Regions from separate parts of the Homo sapiens genome. Here all the other regions are linked to region 4. Evidence: promoter capture Hi-C in 16 types of primary human blood cells and fetal thymus (Javierre and others, 2016). All regions are on one chromosome and are shown on one strand. Each heading gives the region's core, a stretch centred on a gene start or on the middle of the fragment in contact. The rest is flanking DNA. Distances are from core to core; before and after follow the strand shown. Region 1 has its middle 66 kb from the start of SNX9. Region 2 has its middle 110 kb from the start of SNX9. Region 3 overlaps ZDHHC14 (zDHHC palmitoyltransferase 14). Region 4 holds the start of TMEM242 (transmembrane protein 242). Region 5 has its middle 140 kb from the start of SNX9. Region 6 overlaps ZDHHC14 (zDHHC palmitoyltransferase 14).

Region 1 (4,739 bases), core at 1,650-4,149, 430 kb before region 4:
TGGGACTACAGGCGCCCGCCACCATGCCCAGCTAATTTTTGTATTTTTACTAGAGACAGGGTTTCACCATATTGGCCATGCTGACCTCAAACTCCTGACCTCAAGTGATCCACCAGCCTCAGCCTCCCAAAGTGTTGGGATTACAGGCATAAACCACTGCGCCTGACCCATTTAATTTTTAATAATGGCTGTGTTTAACAACCAGCTTGCAAATTTCCTGAAAATTTAACCATGAGTGCTCCTGGGCCCATCAGGGCCAGCTCTAGCATGTCACAGCCTGGTTTGGCTCTCAGGCCCCATCTTTGCATGGCTTCAGCTAGATGTCATGGTCCCCTGCCCGCAGCCTGCATGACTCAGAATTCCTACCAGCCAGGGCCGTGTGACTTCTGACGTCCAGGTTGCCAAATTCAATAGGTAAATTTCACTCCTTATTCTACTTGGCCTCCCAGAGACTCCTGTCTTTTGAAACTCTCAACACCATCATTGTTCCTTGCTATGATTTTAAACCTTCTCTGAGGGCACAGGTTCCTCTGCTGGCCCTTCAGCTGTTGGTGTTTTTCAGGACCTGAGGTCTTCTTCCACTGTCCTCACTGGGAACGTGAATGCCGCTGCTTCCCAGATCCCTGCCTTCAGTTCAGGTCTCCCTGTTGAACTCAGGTCTCATCTGTGCAACTTCCTGCTGCACAGCTTCCTGTGACCATCTCTCAGGCGTCTCCTACTCAACAGGTTCCATCATCCCTACCTGTCTTGCTCACGCAGGCATCCATGCTAGCGTTCACCCCATAAATACTTCTCAGACACCCATTACCTGCTAGTCACTACACGTGCTGACCATACAGCTGTGACTCAGCCACAGTCCCACCCTCATGGGGCTTATCCAGGGGACATGGTGTCACCATGTGCCCAGTGACCCCAGCCAGAGCCTTCAGTCATCCTTACCCCTGACCTCTCCCACTTACCATTGTTTAGTTGGTAGATTTGATCTGTTCTTCTTCCTGCCCAACTCCGGAAGCCTCCCCTTCCTCTGCCCCCACCAAGAGTGTCTTTTCCCCAGGCCCTTGTCATTTTGCTCTGGGATCATCGGGAAGCTCCTCACTGCTCTCCTATCCCCAGACTTGCCGCTCTCGAATCCATTCTCCATGCTGCTAGAGTAATGATATTTCTGAAATCACATTTATGATATTGCCATTTCCCTGTATAATATTCTCCCAAAGACCCTCATAGCATTCCATGTAACATCTAGCCTCCTTGGCATGGTAGAAAAGGCCTTTTAGGTGACCTGGCCTCATCTGCTTCTTTTTTCTTTCTTTTCTTTTTCCTTCCTTCCTCTCTTTTTTCTTTCTTTCTTTCTCTCTTTCTCTTTCCTTCTTTCCTTCCTTCCTTTCTTCTTTCTTTTCTTTTCTTTTTTGATAGGGTCTTGCTCTGAAGACCTTGGAGGCTGGAGTGCAGCAGTGAGATCACACCTCACTGTAACTTTGAACTCCTGGGCTCAAGTGATCCTCCTGCCTCAGCCTCCTGAGTAAGTGGGACTACAGGCATGCACCACCATGGCCGGCTAATTTTTAATTTCTTTTTGTGGAGACGAGGTCCTGCTATGTTGCCCAAGCTCCTCAAACTCCTGGCCTCCCCATCTGCTTCTTAGTCTTCTTGTTACCATTCCTCCTGAGACCTACGCTCCAGCTGTGGGGACATTTCTCAGGCCTACCCCCTATGCTGGTGCCAACCCCTTCACCCAGAATCCCTCCACCCGACGCCAGCCCTAGCCCCTATTCCTTTCTTTGATTGCCTGCTCCTAGTCATCCTTCAAAGCTTGGTTCAGCTGCAAGCTTCCCAGTATGGCTGTGCAAGGGGCATTGCAAAGAGGTGGAGGGTGCCCTGTGCACATCTGAGGTCACTGTAGATTATGACAATTTTCTGGTACATAGTGATAAAATGAATGGTGCCACTGAGGTCATCAGCAGGGCAACTTCTGTCACTTCCTCCTGGAAATGTTCACTGGCCCTCCCAGTTTGCGTTGGGTGACTCTTCTCTGTCATGGCCATGTCATACCAAACTGTGACTGTTTATTAGTATCCATGCTCTTTTGGAGGATGAGCTCTTGGAGGACAGGACCGTGTCCTTCCCTTCTGTATACCTGGCACAAGAACTGATGGGCAGTCCGTGAAGGTTTGTTGAGTGAATGAGCGTGTCCCCGGTAACAGAGTGCCGTGGATAAGGCCCCAGGATCCTGAGTTAGAATCCTGGTGCTGCCTCTCCCATGCAGGGTGACTTAGACACAGCACTCCACAAGTAGCCACCCCATACCTCATACAAAGAGTATGGGGCTCAAGTGAGAAAGTGGCTGCCAAGCACTGAGGGAATGCATGGTGATTCTTACGACTGAATATTTTCCAGTGCTGAAGCTGCTTCTGTGTTGTGCTTCCTAGTCCACTTTTCTGGACTCCCTCTCTCGGTTTGTTTATTATTATTTTAATCCTCCTGAGTTTTACTAGAGAGGCAGCACCATCTTGGTAAATATCTTAACTGCCAGCTCCTGGTGGGGGGAGGGGGTGGAAGTTGAAGTGGAATTCAGTGCAGTGATGTGTGAGATAATGGAACACACACACATTACAGCTAAAGTCCAAGGGAAAGGCTGTCAGAATTAGCTGGATTCTCCCGGCGTCCTCTCTGCACCGGGGCTTGCGATCTGGCCCTCGGCCGCAGGTTGGCACAGCCTGCTTTGTTGCTGAGATGCCCAGTTTCCTCTCGCTCCTGCCCTCTGCTGGCCGGAATCAGATTCTTTCCCGCATATTTGACTCTGTTGCCTCTGGGGATCCGCCTGGGGATCCGCCTGCGTCTCGGGGGCCTGGTTTTCTTTGCTTATTCACTTGCTTGCTGGAGTGTCTATTCCCTGCTTGCTGCATTAGAAGCTATGGGGTACACAAGTGATGCTGGTCCTCAAAGTCCACCTTCAAGGAGCAAGAAATTTGGATAATCTTGGAGAAGCAGAAGCCAGGACCTCAATCCAGAACTCTGTGCCTGGAGCAATGAAGGAGTTATTGTCCCCAGACATGGCACACCAGATTGCAAATTTATAAAGACAGGGAATCATACTTATGTAGAGCTTCGCAATTTACAGAGCACCAAGACATACATTTTCCAATTTAACTCTTTTTTTTTTTTTAGACAGAGTCTCACTCTGTTGCCCAGCTAGAGTGCAGAGTGCAGAGGAACAATCACAGCTCACTGCAACCTCCACCTCCTGGGTTCAAGCAATCCTCCTGCCTCAGCCCCCCAAGTACTTGGGTCTACAGGCACTTGCCACCACGCCCAGCCAATTTTTGTATTTTTTGTAGAGACAGGGTTTCACCATGTTGCCCAGGCTGGTCTTGAACTCCTGACCTCAAGTGATCTGCTTACCTCAGCCTCCCAAAGTGTAGGGATTACAGGCATGAGCCACCATGCCTAGCTAATTTAACCCTTTCAAGCAAACCACTGAGGATGGTATTAATGAAATAAAATAGAAATTGTGTTGGGAGACTGACATTTACTGTCATCAGATGTGATTACTGGCAAACATCTTGTTAGTCAGCTGATGTTATGTCTCACCTCAAAGGACACACTTGATGGGTGGGTGGGGGAAAGCCAGTAAGCCAGGAGTTTCAAAGGAACACTGTGTGGTCTGACCCACACTGTCTTTCCGTAGCATCTGAACTTTCTGTCCCTGCCTCTCCAGCAATGTCTGAGAAGATCAAAGTCTGAGGAGACAGATGTGACTCCTGGAGAGGCATCCAATGGGTAGTTCTCCACTTCTGCCTTGCAACCGTGATCCCAGAAATTCTGAAAGGGCACTTTTAGGATTAAAAGCATTTAGCTTCGTTTCTTCCTTTGTAGGAATGGAAAATCAAAATCACTCTGAAGTCGTGGTTTCTTTTAAGATGCAAAACAACTCCTTTCAAGCCATTGCTTTTAAATCTCTCACATTCAAGCTTAAATCAGTGAGTGACATTGTCACCGTATAATCCGACTGAGTTAAATCGAATAGTGGGAAAGTGGCCTTTTCTTTCTTTAATCTTTGACAAAATAAGGCAAATTCTAAAATTATGCCCAACAGTCTATCAGTAGTCTTTGTTGTTCCACATGTTCAAAGAGAAATGTCTATAAACTCTCAGCTGGTGTTTTTCTAACCCGGAGGCATTCTCTTCCCTACCAGGAAGGGAGGAGTGACTAACATATGATGCTGAGAGAGGCCACTAGGAAAGAGATGGCTGAGAGGGAGAATTTCTCCCGGTGTCAGAGGCATGCGAACCAGAGCAACTCCATCTTGAATACAGAGCTGGGTAAAATGAGGCGGAGACCTACTGGGCTGCATTCCCAGACTGTTAAGGCATTCTAAGTCACAAGATGAGATAAGAGGTCAGCACAAGATGCAGGTCATAAAGACCTTGCTGATAAAGCAGGTTGCAGTAAAGAAGCCGGCCCTATCTCACCAAGACCAAGATGGCCACGAGAGTGACCTCTGGTCGTCCTCACTGCTACACTCCCACCTGCACCATGACAGTTTACAAGTGCCATGGCAATGTCAGGAAGTTACCCTGCATGGTCTAAAAAGGGGAGACATGAGATTCACCCCTTGTTTAGCATATCATCAAGAAACAACCATAAAAATGGGCAACCAGCAGCCCTCGGGGCTGCTCTGTCTATGGAGTAGCCATTCTTTATTCCTTTACTTTCTTAATACACTTGCTTTCACTTTATTC
Region 2 (4,731 bases), core at 1,509-4,008, 390 kb before region 4:
CGTGAGCCACCATGCCCGGCCATCTTGACTCTTTTATATTCATTTCGGAAGCTCAAATTCACCTTCACACCGTCCTTCCTTTGAGCATCACTGAGCTACGGTGTGTGTGTCTCTCCTCTAATCGCGACTGCTGTCACAGCACTATCTTCGCTGAGTTCTCTTCTAAGCACATTTCGCATCTAATTGAGTTATCGTCACTCAGTGCCAGGAAAGACTGAGACTGAGGCAGGAAAAGACACGCCTGAGCCAAATGTGTCTGCCAGAGTTTAAAAGGGTTTGCTGCTGTCTTTAAGTCCTTGGCTTAATTCCAAGATAATGTGTAAGTGCTTTAGGATTGACTGTTATTTTGTATTTTCTGGCTTTTGGCTCTTCTCCATTAACATAATGGCTAACCCTGTAATTGTTATGAAAGAATGAGACCATTTTACCCTGAGCTTGGAAAAGGGTAGAGACAATGTCTATTTTCTTGCTTCTGGAGCCTCTCCGGATAAACCTTATTTTATTATCATTCCAGGGGTGCCCACCTGACATGGCAGAGGATGGGTCCATGGTTAAGCCACTGCGCTCTCACCTAGAAGTGAGCACAATGGTGGGTTGAGGACATTCTGGGAGGTTCGGGAGCTTTTCTGCCATTATCCTGGGAGCAAGAGGCACCCTGCAGTGGGATGCACCCTGCGGGCAGGACCTGGGCATGGGGTCAGAGTGGGCCGGGCCAGAGCACACTGCCTCATCAGGGAGTTGTGGCTGGGGAGGCCCCTAAGAAACTTCCACAGAAAGGGCCCGCCACCCAGCAGGCAACAATGGCCAAGGGAAGTCCCCAGTGGCACTGCGTGAATAAAGACTTTGATCTCCTCTGCCTCCCTTCTTCCCTTCACAGCACATTGGAGAAAAGAGAGGAGGAAGAAGGAGTTGGGCAGAGACTCTCACCCCTCTGCAAACCAAGGCTCTGAGGCTGGGACCTACTACTCCTTCTGCTAGGAGGTGAGGATGTGCAATGGAAGTGAATTAAAATGGATTGGACAAGACTTTGAAAAAAAAAAAACCCTGTGTCATCCAAGAGATGGAATCAGAATAGGATCCCTAAGGGACTAGACGTTTATGAGAAAAATAAAGCAATTTCATGTTTGTTTCACTTGTTCCGTAAAGTAGTTGGCCACACATGTCTAGGATGAATTACACCAAACCAATCTAGCTTTTATTTTTTAATTCAAGACTTCTACACTCACCATAGATGGATAATTTCTCTATGCTGATAAAGCCTGTTATATGTTTCTTGCCATGGTGTCTTTTTAGAATGCATAGAGAAAGAGGGATATAGGATCTGAGCTCAAAGAGGACCCCAAAGGATGTGGGAAAAATGAAACGCTCATACACTGTTGGTGAGAATGGAAGTTAGTACAACCTCTGTGGAAAATTGGAGAGTTCTCAAAGAAGGAAAAATAGAACTACCCTTGGATCTGGCAATCCTACTACTGGTTGTTATATACCTGAAGGAAAATAAATCATTATATAAAAAAGACACCTGGACTGTCAGCTGTAGCAGTATTCACAATAGCGAAGTCCTGGAATCAACCCAAGTGCCCATCACCAGATGATTGGATTAAAAAGTGGTACATACATACATCATGGAATACAACTCAGCCATAAAAAAGAATGCAATATTGTCTTTTGCAGCAACATGGATAGAACTGGGGGCCATTATCCTTAGTGAAATGGCCCAGAAACAGAAAATCCAAAACTTCACTTTCTTACTTATATGTAGGTACCCCCAGACATACAGAGGGAAATAATAGACACTGGAGACTCCAAATGGTGGGCAGGTGGGAGGGGTGAGGGATCACCTCTTGGGTTCATTGTACACTATTTGGGTAATGAGCATACTGAAAGCCCCGATTTCACCACTGTGCAATATATTCATGTAAAACAACTGCATTTGTACCCCTAAATCCATAAAAATAAAACATTTAATAAAACTAAAAAAGACTTTGAAAAAAATAAGAGGCTCATGCCAAACCTGAGTGGCATTTCTATAGCTATGCTTTGAAGGCCCATCCTTAAACACGCCCGGCTCAGCCTCAGTTCCTTGCACGTGACCTACTTTTTCAAGAAAACATTTATGGAGCACTTCCTGTGCGTAAGACCTTGGTGTTAGGAGCTGCAGAGGCAAGACTGTTCCTTACAACCTGGTTTCCTTCTGGATGCTTCCTACCTAGTGAGCACCAGGCAGTAAATAAAATAAGGGTGGAGCCATGGCTCTGAGCAGGGGGTGGGCACTGTGGTGTGGGAGAAGGGGGTACTTCTCCCTCCTCAGGCTGGAAGAGAGGTAGAGCAGGCATGCACTCTGACCCGAGCAGGGCGGGCCAGCCGAGCACAAGCTTCTTTCACTTAAAGGAGCAGGAATGATAAAGAGTAACTTAGCTAGGCTGGGTGGGGTGGATCACACTTGTAATAGCAGCACTTTGGGAGTCTGAGGCCCAAGAGTTCTAGACCAGGCTGGGGAATACAGCCAGACCCTCATCTCTACAAAAAATGAAAATTAGCTGGTGTGGTGGTGCATGCTTGTAGTCCCAGCTACTTGGGGGACTGAGATGGGAGGATTGTTGAGCCAGGAGTTTGCGGCTTCAGTGAGCTATGATCGCACCACTGCACTCCAGCCTCGGTGACAGAGCAAGACCCTGTCTCAAAACAAACAAACAAACACCAAAAAAACCAAGGGACGAACGCTGGCTAGATGGATCAGGTGTCACAGCCATTGCTGTTTGGCCAGTAAAATGCAGCCCAGCAAGTGCGGAGATGACAGACGGGCATGGGATTGCTGAGCAGGGGTTCGCAAAGGACAGAGGTACTGGACACTGAATTTGCTTTGTGTTGATATTGTTTCCCCTTTTCCCAAAAAGAGGCATGGGAAGCATGGCATGAATCACTTATGGGCAACGTGAGACAAATTTCTAAAATGGTTTGCTGCACGCAACCAATTTCACATTGAAAGCCACTCCTGCTAAATGCTGAAAAGCCATAAATCATCCAGCCTAATGGATTTTGTCCCATCTATTCAGTATCTTCCAGGGCATTGAATTTAGAATGTAATGCACTAAGAAAAAAACAAAACAAAACACCTCCCTAGAAAACCATATAAGCTTGAACATTTTCAAAGTAAAATCGCTCATGCTAAAAGCATCCCTCCCTCCTTGTGAAAAGACCTTGACCACTTCTCTCTTGCTGGTCTCCCCGTAGCAGACAACGGCTCGCCTCCCAGTGCCACAGGAAGAACGTGGCTGCCTCAACATGAGCCCAGCCCTGCCACTCCAGGTGTGAGACCTGGGCAAGCAGCATCAGTCTTGCAGCCACAGCTTTCTTGTCCATCCAGTGGACCTAGGGCTATTGTGACTATAAATGAAAAAAGAACCTAAGACAGCCCTGGCCTTAAGTAGTTGCTTAAAACGTGATGGCCGGCATGATGGTTTTTTAAACATTTGGGTCCCCTGCTCTCTTCCCCCATGTTTCCTAGTGTCTGGGTTGGAGGCAGCCTTAGCCACCTTCTTCTTACCTTGCCTTCCCTCCTTCCTACCTGTGTCCAGGACAAAATGCCTGAGGAATGTCTCTGCTTCATTAAGCAGCAAAACACACAATGACCCTTGTCATTATAGCCGCTATTCCTGGTGGGCGAGGGTCCACCCAGCTCTGGCTTCAGTTAAGCTTCTGACTGGGGAGAGCCTGGGATCCTTTTTTGGGGAAATGGCTCACTAGTTCTTTGACTGGGTGGGGCTATTTTCCAGGCTGCAAGAAAAGAGCCTCGCCCCTGCTGCTCCGAGGCCAGGCTTCTCCCTGCAGAGCCTGGGTCAGATCAGCTGGGATTCCAGGGCTGACCAATTTCGTCATGAGGGTTGCTCTAATTCACTGTTTGGGAAACTCAGCCCTGGAAAACAAAACTGTGTTGCAAGATTTCTTCATTCCTTGGTTTGCACACCATCAAATTACGCATGAGTTTAATGTAATTTGAGCTTTTCTCTCAGATGAAACCCATGGCAAATACACAGAGGAGCCAAAATGCCTACTTTTTAGGCTTTATCTTGATTTTTTTTTCTTTTTATAGGCCACGTATCCCAAATCTTTATAAAAGAGAATAACAAAAACACACACAGATAAAACTGATATCCCTTTTCTTTTTTTTTTCTTTTCTTTACTCTTTTTTTTTTTTTTTTTGAGGCAGGGTCTCACTCTGTCACCCTGGCTAGAGTGCAATGGCGTGATCATTACAGCCTTGATTATAGCAGTGATACATCACTATAGCCTCAATCTCCCCAGCTCAAGCAATCCTCCCACCTCAGCCTCCCAAGGAGCTGGGACTATAGGTGTGTGCCACACCTGGCTAATTCTTTTGATTTTTGGTAGAGACAAGGTCTCACTATGTTTCCCAGGCTGGTCTTGAACTCCTGAGCTCATGTGATCCACCCACCTTGGCCTCCCAAAGTGCTGGGATTACAGGCATGCGTCACTGTGCCCAGCCCAAACTGACATTCTTTATGCCATCAGTATCCAATTAGAAAGAACGCTTAATTCAGAAAAATGTTCTTGATTGTGTCCCTGAGCGTGAGGAAGGCATAGGGAGGGGAAATGTTTATTCACGGCCGCAATTCTTTCAGCCTGGGTAAGGGCGTGGTTCTATGGGACTCTGTGTCCTTCTGGTAGATAGATACCTGCTTCTTCTTCTTCTTTTTTTTTTTTTTAAGA
Region 3 (4,508 bases), core at 1,349-3,848, 270 kb before region 4:
AAGGGAAGCAAACATGTCCTTCACATGGCAGCAGGGAGGAGAGGTGCCAAGCAAAGGGGGAAAAAGCCTCTTATAAAAGAATCAGATCTCGGGAGATCACTATCACAAGAACAGCATGGGGGTAACTGTCTCCATGATTCAATTACCTCCCACTGGGTCCCTCCCATGACATGTACAGATTATGGGAACCACAACTCAAGATGAGATTTGGGTAGGGACACAGCCAAACCATATCATTCTGCCCCTGGCCCCTCCCAAATCTCATGTCCTCACATTTTAAAACACAATCATGCCTTTCCAACAGTCCCCCAAAGTCTTAGCTCATTCTAGCATTAACCCAAAAGTCCAAGTCCAAAGACAAGGCAAGTTTCTTCTGTCTATAAGCCTGTAAAATCAAAAGCAAGTTAGCTATTTCCTAGATACAATGGGGGTACAGGCACTGGGTAAAATAAACCTGTTCCAAATGGGAGACATTGGCCAAAACAAATGGGCTACAGGCCCCATGCAAGTCCGAAATCTAATAGGTCAGTCATTAAAGCTTAAAGTTCCAAAATAATCTCCTTTGACTCCATGTCTCACATGCAGGTCATGCTGATGCAAGAGGTAAGGCTCCCACAGCCTTGGGCAGCTCCGCCCTATGACTTTGCAGGGTACAACCCCCCTCCCAACTGCTTTCACGGCTGGAGTTGAATGTCTTCAGCGTTTCTGGGCACACAGTGCAAGATGTCAGTGGATCTACCATTCTGGGGTCTGGAGGATGGTGGCCCTCTTCTCACAGCTCCACTAGGCAGTGCCCCAGTGGGGACTCTATGTGGGGGCTCTATGTGGGGGCTCTGACCCCACATTTCCCTTCTGCACTGCCCTAACAGAGGTACTCCATGAGGGTTCCACCCCTGCAGAAAACTTCTGCCTAGACATCCAGGCATTTCCATACATCCTCTGAAATCTAGGTGGAGATTCCCAAACCTCAATTATTGTCTTCTGTGCACCTACAGGACCAACACCACATGGAAGCTACCAAGGCTTGGGGCTTGCACCCTCTGAAGCCATGGCCTGAGCTGAACCTTGGCCCCTTTTAACCATGGCTGGAGTGGCTGGGTTAGAGTCCATAGGCTGCACACAGCAGGGGGCCCTGGACCTGACCCAGGAAACCATTTTTTCCTCCTAGACCTCTGGGCCTGTGATGGGAGGGGCTGCCATGAAGGTCTCTGACATGCTCTGGAGACATTTTCCCCATTGTCTTGGTGATTAACATTCAGCTCCTTGTTTCTTATGTAAATTTCTGCTGTCAGCTTGAATTTCTCCCCAGAAAATGGGTTTTTCTTTTCTGCTGCATGATCTGGCTACAAATTTTCCAAACGTTTATGCTCTGTCACCTCTCAAATGCTTTGCTGCTTAGAAATTTCTTCCACCAGTACCGTAAATCATCTCTCTCAAGTTCCACAAATCTCTAGGGCAGGGCAAAATGCCACCAGTCTCTTTGCTATATCATAACAAGAGTCACCTTTATTCCTGTTTCCAAGAAGTTTCTCATCTCCGTCTGAGACCACCTCAGCCTGGACTTCATTGTACACATCACTATCAGCATTTTGGTCAAAGCCATTCAACAAGTCTCTAGGAAGTTCCAAACTTTCCCACATCTTCCTATCTTCTTCTGAGCCTTCCAAACTGTTCCAACCTCTCCCTGTTACCCACTTCCAAAGTCGCTTCCACATTTTCAGGTATCTTTATAGCAGTGCCCCACTACCCAATACCAATATACTGTATTAGTCCATTTTCATGCTACTATAAGGACATATCTGAGACTGGGTAATTTATAAAGGAAAGAGGTTTAATTGACTCACAGTTCTGAAGGGCTGGGGAGGCCTCAGGAAACTCACAATCATGGCAGAAGGGGAAGCAAACACATCCTTCTTCACATGGCAGCAGGAAGGAGAAGTGCCAAGCAAATATCTCATGAGAACTCACTCACTATCATGAGAATAGCATGGAGGTAACCACCCCCATGATTCAATTACCTCCCACTGGGTCCCTCCCATGACACATGGGGATTATGGGAACCACAATTCAAGATGAGATTTGGATGGGGACACAGCCAAACCATATCAAGCATTGAGATGTCTAAAAACTCCTCCGAGATGTTGATATAGTTTGGTTTTGTATCCCTGCCCAGATCTTATGTTGAATTGTAATCCCCAATGTCAGAGGAGGGGCCTGGTGGGAGGTTACTGGATCATGGGGGTGGATTTCTCCCTTGCTGTTCTTCTGATAGTGAGTTATCATGAGATCTCATTGTTTAAAAGGTGTAGCACCTCCCCTTGCACCCTCTTCCTCCTGCTCTGGCCATTTAAGACCTTCCTCTTTTCCTTCCTTTCTCTTTTCCTTCCTCCATGATTGTAAGTTTCCTGAGGCCTCCTCAGCCATGCTTCCTATACAGCCTGTGGAACCATGAGCCAATAAAACCTCTTTTCTTTATAAATTACCCAGCCTCAGGTAGTTCTTTATAGCAATGTGAAAATAGACTAATACAGATGGGAATCTGCAGCCAAAGATGAGAAGGCCTGCTCCAAGAGTGGTCCACCAGCATCCATATCATCTGACAGCCTAGCACATAAGCAGATTCTTGGCTTGTCCCAACTATGGAATGGGAATCTGCATTTCACCGAGATTCCCCAGTGATTGAAACTTTCAGGTTTGAGAACCCCACTGTGGGGTGCCAGTAAATACTCCCCAGTCCACACATTCCTATGTGCCTCTTTATTATGTACTCAAATACACTCACTTGTATGATAAAGAGCTACCCTTAGAGAACGCAGCTTAGTCAGGTGAGGGGCCACATCACAGAACACACCCACACCCAAGCGTTTTCACGCAGAGCACTTGGTGATTTAGAACAGCTCAGGGTATCTGGAGAGCTGTGCCATTCTGCCCCCAAGCAGGGCTGCTGTCACTCACTGACAGTACCCATGATTCGCATGTCATGATTCAGGGGCTCGAAAAGGAATGCCCCTCCCTGCAGTCTTCTTTAAAAAATGTATATTTTTTAATTTTTAGAAATAGTCTCACTCTGTCACCCTGGCTGGAGTGCAGTGGTGCTATCATAGCTCACTGTAGCCTTGACCTCCCAGGCTCAGGTGATCCTCCCACCTCAGCCTCCCAAGCTGCTGGGACTATAGGTATTCACCACCATGCCTGGCTAATTTTTAAATTTTTTAAATTATTTATTTATTTATATATTTATTTATTTGAGAGATGGAGTCTTGCTGTGTCACCCAGGCTGGAGTGCAGTGGCGTGATCTTGGCTCACTGCAACCTCTGCCTCCCCAGATTCAAGCCATTCTCCTGCCTCAGCTTCCCAAGTAGCTGGGACTACAGGTGTGCACCACCACGCCCAGCTAATTTTTGTGTTTTTTTTAGTAGAGACAGGGTTTCACTATATGTTGGCCAGGCTGGTCTCAAACTCCTGACCTCAGGTGGCCCGCCTGCCTTGGCCTCCTAAAGTGCTGGGATCACAGGCATGAGTCACAGTACCCAGCCTAATTTTAAATTTTTTATAGAGACAAGGTCTCACTATGTTGCTCAGGCTGGTCTCAAGCAACTGGCCTCAAGCTAGTGATCCTCCTACCTTGGTCTCCCAAAGTGGTTACAGGCATGAGCCACTGTGCCCAGCCTTGGTCTTCTTTAAATGGCTGTCAGAGGTCTGGAAAGCTGCTATAGCCCTTTAGCCTAAGGCTTTGGTGTTTGTGAAAGTACAATCCCAGAGTTAAGGAGAGTGCTTTGAACTGCTACTGGCCATGAATTATTCATGGAAAATTAAAGTTCCAGGTTCGAGGGAGAGCAGGCAGTGTGGAGGGCAGGGCGGGGCAATGGCAGGAGGAAGAAGCAGGTCTCCTACTTCTCTCTTCCTGAGGCCCAAACCTTCTGCTTAGAATAACTGAACAGCTGTGGAGCCAGTCCAAGGACTCTGGGTGGCCTTGCCCTGCCAAGCAGGATACCCTCTTTTGGCAGGTGCCACATCTGCCTGGCACCCCAGGTGGCTGCCCCATCAAATGGCACTAATGTCACAGGCATCTGGAGAGGTGCTGAGCTCCAAAAGCAGGGGCCTTAAGAAGAGGGAGGCCTTGCAACTGATTCTGCAATAAGGAGAGAACAAAGAGATGGCACGGCTGTGTGCTTCCCCTGAGCACTGGATAGAAATCACTGGCTTTGAATCCATCAAAGATAAGGTCAGGTCTCTATGGGTGCCAGCTGGGTGCCACTGAGGCCTAGATTAATAATAATCCTAATGTCAGCTGTGAAATCTATTGCCTCTATTTACTCCTGCAAACATGGGTAGAAAAACTAGACCTGATATCTTTTTATAAAATACGAACTCAGTCAAACATTTGTGTTAATTTCAGTAGAAAAGTTTAGAAACTGAATTGTGAAGGTGAATATTTTAAAATGCAGGAATGACAAACGTATCAACACTACAACTATTTAAATAGCCTAGTTCTGAGTAGCAATGA
Region 4 (5,075 bases), core at 1,916-4,415:
CAGGCTTCTGAGGCTCTGGAAACACCATCTCCCAGGATCTGGCACCAAGCAAGTCACAGGGCAGGTGCTGGGGGCTAGTGAGAAATGGGGCTGTAGTAGTCTCCACAAACAGGCCTTGACCAAGGAGCTCGCACCTCCTCCTCTCCTTGGTATGTATCCCACAAAGATCCTCAAAATGCAAATTTTGAGGCTGAAGTGTAAACCATTGGTTTGTGTCAATTGCCTTTTCAGTCCTGTGTATATTGGGAAAACAAGCTTTCAAGTAGAAAAAAGGAAGATTGCCTTTTACTTTGGGGATTTAGAAAGAAGATAGAGGTTTGTGAGCTGCAACATCCAAAACAAAGCAGACACCAGTTTCCTAGGATGTGCAGTTACTTTCAATGGAGACCAGCTCTGGAATGCAGGACTCTGTAATTTCCCTAGATTACAAGATCTATTATCTCCCTTCTGTTCCTTATAGTAAGCAGTGATATAAACCTTAAATTATTATTATTATTATTATCATCATCATCATCATCATCTTGAGACGGAGTCTTGCTCTGTCACCCAGGCTGGAGTGCAGTGGCATGATCTTGGCTCACTGCAACCTCTGCCTCCTGGGTTGAAGCGATTCTCCTGCCTCAGCCTCCCAAGTAGCTGAAATTACAGGCGCCGCCACCACACCCAGCTAATTTTTATATTTTTAGTAGAGATGGGGTTTCGCCATGTTAGCCAGGCTGGTCTCAAACTCCTGACCTCAAGTGATCTGCCTGCCTCGACCTCCCAAAGCACTAGGATTACAGGTTTGAGCCACTGTGCCCAGCTTAATCCTTAAAATGTTTCTGTCGTTTTCTAAGGGGACAGCAAAGAAGAGAGTGGAGGAATCTGCACTTTTTCTCCCTAAGCAGTCTTGGGAAAACAGATTTCCAAGTGCTAAAGTGTATGGTGTGGATTTTAAGAGGTGTAATCCATAAGAGGAAGGCACACAGAAGATGTTCTCGAAGTGGAATCCGTGGCAACAGCATCACCTGGGAACTTAGACATACACGTTCTCAGCCCCCACTGAGTCACAGACTCTGGGAATGGGGCCCAGCAAGCTGAGTGCAATAAGCCTTCCAGGTGATTCCAATATTCAAGTTCACACTTGAGGACGACTGGCACAGTGGATAAGGAAGGACCTGCTTTTAAGCCCTGTCTCTGCCACTTAACAGCTGTGTGAGCTTGAGCAAGTTAGTCTTTCTGAGTTTATGGAGAGGAATAAATGAGATAATGTACTTGAAGCACTTAGTGCAATGTCAGATATATAGAAAGCACTCAATACATGTTAGCAGCTATGGTTACTGTTATGTATGAGGGGAAGGAAAAAGGATAGGTCCTTCAACAAATTAGCACAGCATTTACCAGCTTAAAAGCCCTTTCAGATACTGACGTGTTTCCAGGAAATCCAAAGGTCACATACATTCTGTGTGATCTCATCCACACAAAAATTTGAACAGAGCAGTAGTTTTTTATCATCAGAAACCCCACGGAGCTTTTACATTCTGCCCTGCCACCCGCGGGCCTTCAGAGCTCTAATCTCCCGTGGTAGATAGACCTTGATAATCCATCATTTTTAAAAATCCCCATAGGCAATGCTGCAAAATAGCTACTGGAATCAAAGGTGGTAATAGTTAGAGCTAACATGTATTGAATATTTATATGTGCCAGGCACTGTGCTAACTTCTTTATAGATGTTGCTTCATTTAATTCTCACAGTAATCCTATGAGTTAGGTACTATCAGTTTTTGTGTGTGGGGGGGGCGGGATGGGGTGGATGGCAGAGTTTCACTCTTGTCATCCAGGCTGGAGTGCAACGGCTCGATCTCGGCTCACTGCAACCTCTCCCTCCCAGGTTCAAGCCATTCTCCTGCCTCAGCCTCCCGAGTAGCTGGGATTACAGTCCCGCATCATTAGACTCCGCTAATTTTTGTATTTTTAGTAGAAACGGGGTTTCACCATGTTGGCCAGGCTGATCTCGAACTTCTGATCTCCACCTGCCTCAGCCTCCCAAAGTGCTGGGATTACAGGCGTGAACCACCGCGCCTGGCCTACTACCAGTTTTTAAATTTTACAGGTGAGGAAACTGAGCTATAGAGGGGCTAAGTTACCCCAAGTTCACACACCTGAGAAGCGGTTTAGGACCCGAGCCCAGGTTTGAGCTATTAACTGCACTTCACTGACGCAAAAATGGATGCATTCATTTACTCATTCATCCAACATGCATTTGATGTTGGTAACCAGTTAATATCTGAAAGCTGGGGGATATAAACTGAACATAGAGTCCCATCTCCATCCTCAGGAAACTCATGCCCTCCGGTGATGGGGGGCAGGACAAATAGCAGAGAGACCGCCTTATTTTACAAGATGTCATTGTTCTCTGAGAGGCTGAAAAGATTTTCTATCACCACTAGCCTCCTCCTCTCCACGGCCATTTACAGAATGGGCAAACCAGCCTCCCAGCGGAAGACCAAGCTTGCTAGCGGTCAACGTTGCCGGCAGCTCTGCAAGCGCTTCCAGCGGGCGTCGCTCTCCTTTCGGGGGTGGTACTTTCATTCGGTCATCCTGTGAGTGTTCCACTTCCCGACGGAGGCCGAGCACTCACACCGCGGCGGAGGTACCCGTCACCGCAGAACCGGGTGGCTGGCTCTCCTCCAGGGAGAAAGCCTGTCACTTATTCCTCAACACTGTTGGGAAGTTACCTAGAAAAGTACAGACAGAAGACCTAGGCTTGCGTTTTAGAATCGTGGAGTGTTAGCGCTGGCCAAATCGTTGGACACAATGTAAGCTTGATCAGGAAAATGAGCTCCAGGGTCTCACAGGCGGGGCCTGGAATCTTGGCGCAATCTGCGACCCTCACTGCCTCCTACAGTCGGGGCTGAGCGTTCTTTCAAACAGCCAAAGTAATCACTTAAGTCCAGCAATGATCTCCTTGGAGAAATCAAAAGATCCTCCCTAAGAGACGGCCTTGGAGGGCATCGCCCCTGGGGCTGGGCACAGCACGTCTTCCCGGCCCCGGCGCGGGAGGAGGGTTTGGGGACAGCGGCCGCACTCCGGACCCTTCTTCAGATTGCACAGGAGGAGGCGGTAGCGGAACCTTTCTCCTCCGCCTGGTTCTCGCTTCCACCCGGGCCCAGTTGGGGACGGACGCACTAGAGGCGACCTAAACATGGAGACAGCGGGCGCTGCAACTGGGCAGCCGGCCTCTGGGCTGGAGGCTCCGGGGTCCACGAATGACCGGCTTTTCCTGGTTAAAGGTAAGATGTGCTGTGGTGAGGTGCGGGCGTCGGGGTGAGTTAACCCCGGACCCTGGCTTGCTCTGGAGCGGGCATTCCCACACACATCCCGCTCTGAGAGCCCTTAGCTTGTGCTTGCCCCTGAGTTTAGCCCGCGGAGTCTGGCGGCCCAGGGAGGGTAGGTCGCTTACTGGGTGGAGTCTCCCCTTGGGCGGGGCGGGGGGCAGATCCCGCGAGCTATTCTCCCGGGCGTGCCATATTTCCCCGTCACCTCTGCAATTGTTCTAGAGCCTTGCCTTTTCTGATTGCCATCGTCTCTTCTCCTCCCCGTGAGAAACTTCACGCTGTGGTCCCAGGGGAGAGGGGAAGGGAAGCTGAACCTTTTCTCTGCGCTCGGGAATAATAATTCGGAATGACCCAAGGAACCAGAGGTCGTGCGGTCACGCGTGTTTCTCAGCCGCTGTCATTTACTGTTAGCAAGAGCTGCTTAGCCATGGTTTCTTGAATTTCAAAAGTGATTTTGATTGTAACTCGAATAGTATCTTAAACTTACTTTTGTACATCTTTTTAACCTCTTTTTATTTAATTTTTTTTAATATCCCCCCTCCTCCCCGAAACTCTTGGCAGGTGGAATTTTCCTTGGTACCGTTGCTGCAGCGGGAATGCTAGCTGGATTTATTACAACATTATCATTGGCTAAAAAGAAAAGCCCTGAATGGTTCAATAAGGTTGGTGACACTGAAATCCATTCATAGCATTGTTATTGTTTACAATATATGGCAGCTTTTGCGTAGAAAAAATAAAATATTGATGGTCTTTCACATTGCTTTAAGATGTGAATTTATATACGCTCATGGATTCTAGAAATGTACAAATTAACCAAGTCTTTATTTTCATTTAGAAGGATGTACTTATGTGCTTTCTTAAATTTTAGCGGAACAAGACTTTGAAAGCTTATCTGGTACATTTCCTATTCACAACATGACTTTGAATCTAAATTTGGGCCAGGCATCGTGGTTCATGCCTGTAATCCCAGCACTTTGGGAAGCCGAGAGGGGCAGATCACCTGAGGTCAGGAGTTTGAGACCAGCCTGGCCAACATGGCGAAAACCCATCTCTACTAAAAATACAAAAATGAGCCAGGTGTGGTGTGGCACTCCTGTAGTCCTAGCTACTCGGGAGGCTGAGGCAGGAGAATCACTTGAACCCAGGAGGCTGAGGTTGTAGTGAGCCCAGATAACACCACTGCACTTCAACCTGGGTGACAGAGCGAGACTCTGTCTCAAAAATAAATAAATAAATATTCACACAAATAACTGTGTAATTACAATTTGATGTGTGCTATGGAGGAAAAGTGTTACGTAAAACATCATAAAAAGTCAAGTTTCCTTTCCACTTACATTTATCTTTAATAATCATACTTAAGCCTTATCGATACCATAATGGCAAGAGACCATGTTTAAAGTGTGCTTGGATCCCCTCTGAATGCTCTAAGCTTATATGGAGCTTCCTAAATCACTGCTATGGACCTTGTGGGTCATTTTCTCTCTATGTTATAGAATGTTTTCAGAGCAGAAATATATTTTGTGGTGGAAATCAGAGTAGTGCCTTAACAGTAGAGTTTTGGTTGATTTCTAAGCCTAAGTTATGTTAATCCTTGGCTCACTGATCTTTTTAATAATCTGATGAAAACTAGGGATTCTCTGGGGCTGAAGAGCGCACGTACACATATCACAACTTTCCATCCTATTTTGTTATTCTGAGATTTGATCATCACAGATGCTCTTCGGGGTCTAACAGTGGTTTTCAAACTGCAGTCCACAG
Region 5 (4,807 bases), core at 632-3,131, 360 kb before region 4:
TGGATGTAAGTGGCCTTGGCATCCATCCCCCTTGTCTTCCTCCTCTTCCCAGGGACTCCATCACTCTGACTACCTGCCGTCTCTTTCCCTGTCCACGGAAACAGACCAACCTGCCACTCTTTATAGCGGTGGTTCTCAAAGTATGTTCCCAAACCTGTGCCATCGATTTCACCTGGAGCCGTATTAGAAATGCACATTCTCAGGCCTCATCCCAAACCTATGAATCAGAAACTCTGTGGGTGGGCCCAGCAACCTGTGTTCTCTCCAGTCCTCCGGGTGATTCTCATGCCCCAACATTTGAGACCTGCTGCTTTGAAGGACGTTGGAGGCATCGCCTCCGCTCTGCTGCCAACAGGCTTGGGCACAGGGGAGGTGGGAGAAGCCGAGAGTGATGGAGATCGGGGCCCACAGAAGCTACTTCCTTGTCATGTGGGGAGTTCTGAAATGCCCCCTGCGGTCCCGCCTCACTGCCCATTCATATCCTACAGGATGTCCCTGGTTTCTTGTTGTTGGCACGTGACCTTCACGACAGTAGTTTTCAGATCCTGAAGAACCTGAGTTGGAAACAATTCCTTATGCAAGGGGAGCCACACAGGTGTCCACACAGGTCTCCTGGGTGTGCACAACCACAGGGTTCCGAGGCTTCCTCCACTGAGTGTGGCTTAGCTCTTAGTTCACAACCAAGCAATCCGCCATGTCTTCAAACAATGAGAAGACAAGAGCGGTTTTCAAGAAGTGGTGTTGAGAGAATGGATGTGTGGCTCCCACACCTAGCAGGCTGCAGGACCGCCTCCCTCCCCCACTCCAAGCTCAGGGTTTTACCCAAACCCAAGCACCTCTGCTTCTTGCTCTTAGTTAACATCTTACATTGCTGAAGCCTGCAACACCTCTTGAAATTTTTCAGCAACAATGTCTTTATTTCCTTCTTTCTTTCCCTCCCTCCCTCCCTCCCTCCCTTCCTTCCTTCCTTCCTTCCTTCCTCCCTCTCTCTCTTTCTTTCTTTTTTGAGACAGAGTCTCCCTCTATCACCTAGGCTGGAGTGCAGTGGCGTGATCTCGGCTCACTGCAACCTCTGCCTCCTGGGTTCAAGTGATTCTCCTGCCTCAGCCTCCCAAGTAGCTGGGACTACAGGCACACACCACCATGCCCAGCCATTTTTTGTAGCTTTTTTTTTTTTTTTTTTTTTTTTTTTGAGACGGAGTCTCCCTCTGTCGCCAAGGCTGGAGTGCAGTGGCGCGATCTCGGCTCACTGCAACCTCCGCCTCCTGGGTTCACGCCATTCTCCTGCCTCAGGCTCCTGAGTAGCTGGGACTACAGGCGCCCGCCACCACGCCCAGCTAATTTTTTGTATTTTTTTAGTAGAGATGGGGTTTCATCATGTTGGCCAGGATGGTCTCGATCTCCTGAACTCGTGATCTGCCCACCTCGGCCTCCCAAAGTGCTGGGATTACAGGCGTGAGCCACCGCACCCAGCCTTTTTCGTATTCTTAGTAGAGACGGGGTTTCACCATGTTGGCTGGGATGGTCTGGATCTCTTGACCTTGTGATCCGCCTGCCTCAGCCTCCCAAAGACAACAATGTATTTCTTTAGCTAAGGATTTTATCATTTTCCCTAGAAAATTAGGAGGAAAAATCCCAAACAACTCTCTTTATTACTCCTAATTTTAAATATTTCTGAGTATGTTAAATTTGCCAGTGTTCAGAGCAAACCAAAGTATAAGCCATGTTTTCTTCTCTCTTTTTTTTTTTTTTTAAGCTAACAAATTGGTCTAGGTCTAGAATGGCACTTAAGGGAATTAGCTTTATGTTTACAGTGATTTATCCTGTCAGCTGTTCTTCATTTTCCTACTAAGACCTACTTGCCCTCTGCTTCTTGCTCTTTGCTGGTTGATACCATTTTTTAAAAAGGTTGCTAAAGTTGTAATGTCTGGCGACCCCCCAGCCCTCAGATAACATGCTTCTCTACGAGCAAGACCCTCAGTGTCTGCACCACAGCATTTTAGAGGCTCTGGCTTGTGGGTGGGAGAGATGACAGATTTGGGGAATCATTAGGGGACCCTCAGAACACAGTTTGGGAGCAGTTGCCTGTACCAGGGTGCAAAGTTCAGGAGTCCCCAAGGCCACCCTCAATTCTGACACCCAGTGTAAGGTTGGGGCTCCCCACAACCACCCTCAGTTTGATGATTGGCTAGTAGGACTCACAGAACTCCGAAGAGCCTTTCTATGTGCAGTTCTATTACGGTGAAAGTTATCCAGATCAAAGTCAACCAAAGCAAGAGGCACACAGGGTGGAGTCTGAGATGCCGGTGCAGAGCCTCTGGCTGTCCTTTCTCAGAGGGGCTGTGTGGACAGGGCCCATCTCTGCCTGCAATGATGAGACAACAGGCATGGAATAGTGCCAACCAGAAAAGCTCACCCAAGCCTCAGGCCTGGAGTTTTCATTGGGGTGGGTCATGGGGACAGGTTGGCTATCTCTACCACTGGCCTGGGCCTGCAGCCCCTCCAGAGACCAAGCTGATCCTTGGGGCCATAACCCACATGGCCAGCACAGACTGCCTGGCCGGTCCAACCCCCCAGATAAGCAGAGAGACTCTTACCACACAGACAGTTGCAAGGGCTTAAAGATGACTAGCAGAGGACAGAAGCCAGTCCTCTCTAAGGACACGGTTAATCCTCCACTGCACACGAGGCTACTCAAAGCAAGTGCAGCTCGGCACCATGCAACTGTTTGATCCTGGTCCCCGATGAGATAATACAGAGATGGCGTATGTGTTTAGAAACAGCTACGGCAATTGGACAGAGTATGTCTAATACATCTAATCATGAAACAGTGGGACTTTTCGTTACCTATTTAAATTTTTTCCCCAGTAATTTAAAAATTATATTTTATACAAGTACTAATGTGCAATGAATAGGAATTTTTTAAAACAGTGAACACTGTTCTTTATCACTCATGGTTCGAGAAGGGCTGACCTCCACTCTGTGCCATCTCTGTCCCGGCCACCTCTGTGACCTTGGATATGACCTCTCAGCTCTCTGGTTTCCAGGGTTCTCTTTTGTAAGCTGGGGCAGGAATGGGTGAACTGAACAGTTTTTTCAGATTTTCTTTTTGACCATGATAAGAAAATATATCTATGTCATGACCCAGGACCTGTTTCTCCTTGTTCCAGGCAAAGCAGTTTGGCATTTCCTATTCTCATCCTTCTGTTCTCACCCCTTCTATCTAGAAAGAAGACAGTGGTTTGCGCCCACTACACTGGTTTTATGACCCGTGGAGGGCATGGATCTGAGGTGGGACACCCAGTTAGGTGGTCTTTAAAGCGATTTCCTGCCACTGGAGGGACCTTGAACAAGATTCCTGTGTGAGCATCCAGAGCCAGGGCCGGCTGGGCTGAGGTCTACAGATCATGGGCATGTGCAGAAGTCATTATGCTCTTTCTGTGACTCGACTAAGCAGGGAGTTTTCTCCTTTTATTTCTTAGAATAAAAATGTCAAAACCCTGAGATATTCACATGAGGGCATCACTGCTTATCCTCCCCATCGTGGTCAGGGGTGGCCCAGGCCTGTGAGTCAGGAGCAACTCTCCACGTGGGATTCCCAGGGTATGCCTGCGCCCCATGGCGGAGATTGCTCAGTCTGGGGTGACTTGAGGGCATGGTCCTGGCTTTGCTGCTCCCCTGCCTCTGCTCCAGGGCACCCTCATCCTCGCTTGCTGCTGCAAACCGCCTCAGCATCCAGTCTAGAGGCAGATCATATCTGGTGTCTTCTTGTGGGTTATATGGGCACTCATTGGCTTTTACATAAAACACTGAGCGTTGAATGTAGTTCAGCTTGTTACCATGGGTTACAAAAATGGAAGCAGATTCTGTTAAAAAAAAGAAAAAGCTCTTCTGCTCCCCTCTTAGAAAAAGCACCATCCCCCTAAACACTTCCAAGCGACTCGTCTCCTCCCTGGCAGGTGACGGGTGCTGAAGAAGGGGCCTGCGGAAGACCTCTCAGAGCAGATGCTGAGCAGGATGAACTGACAAGGAGGTGTTTGGTGGGAATGAATGCCAGTCCCTTCTTTCTGATCATGCAGAATTTCTAATAATGCAGAAATTAATAATGCAGAATTCAGCCACATCAGCTGGAAGCTCACGTGTCAGTTCCTGAGAACATACAGAACCCCATTGGTCAGGAGGAAGTTCCCATCACAGGGGAGCCGACATGTCCAGAGGTGACCGGCTCCCTTTCATGAGGTTCCTAGTTAACATCCTGTATGTTATGGAAGGGAGGGGTGCCTTGAGAAGCCTGGGGGACAGGCAGAGAGATCCACAACAGCGTTGCAGGTGAACTGGAGGTGGTTTCTGTGCTTCATAAAAGGGCCCTTCACATTTACACGTTCAGTTACCGCTCATCATGCTCTGGGATTGCGTTTTATTGCATAAAGTCAATGTTCACCTAGATCTTAGGAGGACAGCTGCAGAAGGCAAGGAACCAGGAGTCCTGATAGGTAGCAGAGCATCAGCTGACAGGGCCTCACCGTGGCCTCAGCACTGCCGACCTGCGGTTGTTATCCAGGCACATGGTGAACCCTATTTGGCATTTCCATGAGAAGATGGGTTGGAAACAACCCTTGGTGGCCTCTGAAGCCATCTGTTCTCATTATCTCCAGAAAGTGTGTTTTCTAGCACAGCTGCCACACTGACCCAACTGATTAAATTTCAATCCCAGCTACTCGGGAGGCCGAGGCAGGAGAATTGCTTGAACCTGGGAGGTGGAGGTTGCAGTGAGCCGAGACGGGGCCTTTGCACTTTAGCCTGGACG
Region 6 (4,871 bases), core at 796-3,295, 320 kb before region 4:
CCCCCCAATCAGACACAGATTCAATTGAAGATCAAAAAAGGTGTGAAGTGTGACACGACAAACAGCCAGATCTCGATTTCACGAAGGCCACATCCACGCGGCACAAAGTGGTCACGTGGTGGCGGCGACCCATTCCACCAGGGCGGGCGGCCTGTGCTAACGGCCGAGGCATTCGGTTTTCCAAGGTCTGTTGAAGAGCACGATGCGTCCTGAGTCTTACCTTGGTGAGATGGGCCCACACAGGGCAACACAGCAGTTGGTAAAGATATTTCCGTAGCTGTAGGGATTGTAATTTTCTTTACCTCTTTTATTTGACCAGGATCCTTTAATCTGAAAGAAAAGGAAAGTCAGTAACAAGCAATATCTTCCACACCAACGCACAGTTGAGGTGAGCTGGACCATGAGAGGCTCATAAAGAATGCAAATCATCTTTAATCCAAAGAAATGGAGGTATTTTTCTTAAAGAAAACGGGCATTTACTCCAAACTTGGAAATGTCCTAAAACAGCAGGTTAGAATAGGGAAAGAATAACATTCTCAGGGACAGTCATCTTTTATTTGTACCACATGGTACTAAAAGGCCATCTCATATAAGCCAGCAGAGATTTTTTTCATACTCACATTTAGTGCCCTAAATAATAATTAAATGAATGGTAGGTGAAATGGTTCCCCTAATTGCTAATTTACAGACTGAAATAATTCAGCCTCTTCTTGTGACCAAAATGGTCTGTTTTGCATATTCTAATATTTGTAGCTACCAAGTACAAATAACTGTATTAATATTCTCTTATCTCATGTGTCTTATCACAACCTATTTTCTCAAGCTTTTGTTTAAGGTAACTGGACCTATCCTGAGACATTTAATTCAAGTGTGGATAGAGACTTCTATCAAAATCTAAGTATAAAGAGCAAAGAGGACCACGCTGCTCTGGAAACATTCTCTAACATTTTGTTTCCTCTTTTTTTTTTTTTTTTTTGAGATGGAGTGTCGCTCTGTCACCCAGGCTGGAGTGCAGTGGCGCTATCTCAGCTCACTGCAACCTCTGCCTCCTGGGTTCAAGCGATTCTCTGGTCTCAGCCTCCTGAATAGCTGGGATTACAAGCGCCTGCCACCACACCCGGCTCATTTTTTTGTATTTTTAGTGGAGACGGGATTTCACTGTGTTAGCCGGGATGGCCTCGATCTCCTGACCTCGTGATCCGCCTGCCTCGGCCTCCCGAAGTGCTGGGATTACAGGCATGAGCCACCGCGCCCGGCCTTGTTTCCTATTTTCATACTTCCTCTCCATCTGTATTAAGTGCAGGCAGATAATCCTGAATAAAAAAGTTAAATTTTGGGTCAGGGCAATTTCCTCCCACAGAGACATTAAATATGAAAGGCAGACTCAAACGTTCACTCCAAGATGTTGGCCCGCCATGGTCTCTACCAGGGGAAGTGTGATAAGAAGCTTACGAAACCATTTCAAAGGAATACAAAGAACACTCTCTTCAGGGCCAGAAATGGGTGTTGCTTGGCCAATCTTAGTAACTAATGGATGTGGTCGGAAAAACAGAGAACGTGGAGATTCCCAGAAGAGAAACGTGCAGAACGGCAGGTGGAGAAGTTTCCACGGCACCGTCTCTGTTCCCAAGGGCTCACATCTGGAACGGGATGTATGGGAAAAGCTGGGCTCAACCTTTTCTTTCCTTTTTCTCCTCCATTGCCCAAAACCCAAGAACACGCCCGTGTCCCGTGTGGTCAGGAACTTACGTCCTCATTTGTTGTCTGGTTGGAGCTGATCAAGTAGGTGTGGAATCCTGAGAGGCCAACGATGGACCAGACAGAGAAGAAGCACACCACAGCCTCCAGGACGGTGATGCGAGTCAAGGAGGCAAGCGGAAGTGAGGGACCGCGCAAGAAGTGGATGTGATGGAGGCCTGGAACCGAAACACCCCCGGGCACAGGCCTCTCTCTAGTTGCTGGCCTCTCTCTCACCCGGCCTTGCCTTGCTTCCTGCTCTTCCGGGAATTTCGTCTAACCAGATGGAGGCCTCCGTCAGGGCAGGGGGTGTCACCTGCCCCGGCGTGGAGCAGCCTCTGTGGCTCCGTGATGCCTGGAGGGTTTCCTGGGCATCACCTACTCACTTCTTTCCTCTGACTTCTACTTGAACTTCACCTTTTTCTGTGCCTCACTGTGGAGCCAGCGACTGTGGCATCCTGATCAGGAAGCACACTGGTTTGAGTTGGCTGCAGCTCAGGCTCTGGGTGAAAGGACGACATATTGACTCGCACATCAATCACAGACTCTAATTTTGGCTTCTGAATGCTGAGGACTGCAGTGCCAACAGGCGTCTCCCCTGAGGAGAATGGCTTCTGAGGCCCAGAAAGCCCTCTGCTTTAGTGGACGGCCTCTTCTCTGCTTACAGAGAAGGGGAAGAAGGAAAAATAAGCCCCTGAACCGGCGGTGGGATTTCTCGGAGTGACGTCAGGGTGAGGGGTATTTTTACCTGGGGGAGTTTTCTCAGCCCTTCAGCCAACCCCTGACCTATAAGGCCATCCTCAGCTGCTTGATAGGCAGCTGGGAACCACGAGTTCTCGCAGGACATAGAGAGAGAGGAAGTCAAGAGTTCCACAAGACGTGTCCAACACAAAGGGAAAAAGCTTGGTGCTCTTCAGCAGATCAGATCCATCACCCGAGAGTGTGGCAATGTGAAAAGGCCAGAGACTTTTTCTGTCCCACAAATGTTTATAACATTCTATTTACAGGATACAGATATTTCTCAGGGGGAAAAATCCATTCATCCTGGGTCTGGGAGTTTACACATACATCTGGCATCCGCTATCGATACATTACAGGATGGAGAAAGAAACGCGCCTGCTCTCCTAATGTTTCCGAGGATGAATGCCATATACATCATGCTGGAACATGTCAGTGATGATCTTCTCCAGGCTGGAGATAATTCATCTTTAGACCAGAGGGCTGAGCACATTACCCAGTGCGGTGCCGTGGTCTGCTGTGCCATGGTTAACCGATGCCACCATCTGGGCATACAAGGCTGCACACAAAACAGGAGTGAATGGGCTTCTGCCTGTTGACTGACTTTCAACATCGCACTAAACCACTGGGTCTGCTCTAGAAGGAGACGGTAGCGGGGAGTGGTAGGGAACCAGAGAGACACAGGAAGGCAGACCCCCTACCCACAGCTGCTGCCAGCCTAGGCAACCCCTGCTGGGCAAATGGCTACAGTGGGGGCTCTGTGTGCACATGGGGACACATGGATGGTGGCCCAGGCAGCAAAGATGGTCTCATTCTCAACTGCCTTCCCACAGAACGGGGCTAAAGAGGCCCCTCTCTCCACCCACATCCCCCCTGCCAGGAGGGGACAGACTTGGGAGGCAACTCCCCTGGGATTCAGGCCATGCACTGGCTGGAAAGAAGAGGTGAAGTAGAGTCCAGGGAACACAATGCGGGAGCCAGTGGGAAGACTGAGTCAGGAAAGCTGGGGTGTGTGAGAGGGAGATGACATTAGACACTAGTGATGGGTTTGGATCAGCTACAAGGAAGACAAGAGACAGAAAGAGGAGGGGACACATGGAACGGAAACAAGAAATAGCCAGGGTAGAAAAGAATCAAGAACAGAACCAGATTTATTTACTGAATAATACATGAAGAACCAAACTGCAATCCTAGAAATACTTATGTGTCACCAAGAGTTTACGACCCAGGTAGAATGATGGCAAAGTCAAAATGCATATAACATTCCTATGTATGAACCATATGAAACCTGGCATGTACGAGCAGTGACAATCCCAGACTGAAAGTGGCTGCAGCTCCTTTGACAATGTCAACTATGCTCCTTACCCTCATCGGGAGGCATCATAGCCAGCGGATATAGAATTCTAAAGGTTTATAGCAACAATAAAAAAATACAGCATATATATATATATATATATATATATTTGAGATGAAGTTTTGCTTTTGTTGCCCAGGCTGGAGTACAGTGGCATGATCTCAGCTCACTGCAACCTCCGCCTCCCAGGTTCAAGTGATTCTGCTGCCTCAGCCTCCCGAGTAGCTGGGATTACAGGTGCCCACCACCATGCATGGCTAAGTTTTGTATTTTTAGTAGAGACGGGGTTTCACCATGTTGGCCAGGCTGGTCTCGGACTCCTGACCTCAGGTGATCCTCCCAAAGTGCTGGGATTACAGGTGTGAGCCACCATGCCCGGCCAGCTTTTCTATTAATATCTCATGTGCTTTAGACACATTTTGTAAATTGCAGAATGCAGTTCCACTGTCAGCTTGCAGCTGTGTCAAAATGACATGAATCCAAAGTAGGATGCGAGATGCAAGATGCAGCCTGCTGGCACTACCCACACCCTGGGACCCAGCTGACTCAGGAGGTCTCAAGGAACCGTCAGCATCATCATTCATAACAATGGCTGGCATCACTGGGGTGTGTCAGGTCCTGTTCTGCTTAAACCTCAGAGTGACCCAGGGAGAAGCATGACTCCCTCTTAACACACAGGGAAACTGAGGCAGAAAGCAATGAAGTAATTTGCTTGAGAAATAGCAGAGCTAGGACTTGAATGCCGGAAGTCTGCTCTGCTGGGATGACAGAAGAGTCTTAGGCTGGTCCCCTTCCTAATTCTTGCCAAGGGGCAGGTGGCCCTAGACCTACCCCAACCCCCTGCTTCTCCAGGATTCGCGAACCTGTGGCAGCTGACATGGTTTGTTCCCTTTCACATCCACTCTCAGACTCAGATACAGATATACAGACACACATTCCTTACTGGCCCACTGGCTATATGCTGAAAATATCTATGCCATAATAAGGTCAAGAAACAGAAATTTCTTTTAAAGGTATCAAAACCCATTTACCGTCTTTTTTT

What was found. Contacts are between HindIII fragments. The CHiCAGO score rates a contact against its expected background, and 5 or more counts as called.
Region 1: a contact is called between a fragment that was not itself captured here and the fragment with the promoter of TMEM242 in region 4, in 6 of 17 cell types (total B cells, naive B cells, naive CD8 T cells and 3 more). The highest score is 6.5, in total B cells.
Region 2: a fragment that was not itself captured here is called in contact with the fragment with the promoter of TMEM242 in region 4 in 1 of 17 cell types (naive B cells); the score reaches 5.4 in naive B cells.
Region 3: a contact is called between a fragment that was not itself captured here and the fragment with the promoter of TMEM242 in region 4, in 7 of 17 cell types (megakaryocytes, total CD8 T cells, M0 macrophages and 4 more). The highest score is 7.4, in megakaryocytes.
Region 5: a fragment that was not itself captured here is called in contact with the fragment with the promoter of TMEM242 in region 4 in 2 of 17 cell types (naive B cells and total B cells); the score reaches 8.5 in naive B cells.
Region 6: a contact is called between a fragment that was not itself captured here and the fragment with the promoter of TMEM242 in region 4, in 6 of 17 cell types (naive B cells, total B cells, M2 macrophages and 3 more). The highest score is 6.8, in naive B cells.

Annotation. Positions count from the first base shown.
Region 1 is chr6:157,754,842-157,759,580 of GRCh38, reverse strand. No RefSeq gene overlaps it. Among named protein-coding and RNA genes, the nearest start is that of SNX9, 66 kb to the left of the region's middle. RefSeq lists a silencer at 3,970-4,264. The HindIII fragment of the contact is 2,142 bases long and covers 1,829-3,970 here.
Region 2 is chr6:157,715,041-157,719,771 of GRCh38, reverse strand. No RefSeq gene overlaps it. Among named protein-coding and RNA genes, the nearest start is that of SNX9, 110 kb to the left of the region's middle. The HindIII fragment of the contact is 762 bases long and covers 2,378-3,139 here.
Region 3 is chr6:157,587,002-157,591,509 of GRCh38, reverse strand. All of the region lies in intron 2 of ZDHHC14 (zDHHC palmitoyltransferase 14), which reads right to left. Among named protein-coding and RNA genes, the nearest start is that of MIR3692, 60 kb to the right of the region's middle. The HindIII fragment of the contact is 4,116 bases long and covers 541-4,508 here.
Region 4 is chr6:157,321,609-157,326,683 of GRCh38, reverse strand. It overlaps TMEM242 (transmembrane protein 242), which reads left to right and starts at 3,165. Exons shown (of 4, transcript NM_018452.6): 1 at 3,165-3,272; 2 at 3,879-3,979. The coding sequence starts at 3,185. It overlaps TMEM242-DT (TMEM242 divergent transcript), which reads right to left and starts at 3,050. Exons shown (of 1, transcript NR_187268.1): 1 at 2,207-3,050. It overlaps LOC105378076 (a long non-coding RNA gene), which reads right to left and starts at 453. Exons shown (of 3, transcript XR_943165.2): 1 at 1-453. RefSeq lists enhancers at 2,453-2,882, 3,063-3,402. The HindIII fragment of the contact is 1,401 bases long and covers 2,806-4,206 here.
Region 5 is chr6:157,683,630-157,688,436 of GRCh38, reverse strand. No RefSeq gene overlaps it. Among named protein-coding and RNA genes, the nearest start is that of SNX9, 140 kb to the left of the region's middle. The HindIII fragment of the contact is 6,767 bases long and covers 1-4,807 here.
Region 6 is chr6:157,642,718-157,647,588 of GRCh38, reverse strand. It overlaps ZDHHC14 (zDHHC palmitoyltransferase 14), which reads right to left. Exons shown (of 9, transcript NM_024630.3): 6 at 1,750-1,852; 7 at 221-330. Among named protein-coding and RNA genes, the nearest start is that of MIR3692, 120 kb to the right of the region's middle. RefSeq lists an enhancer at 1,468-1,968. The HindIII fragment of the contact is 1,192 bases long and covers 1,450-2,641 here.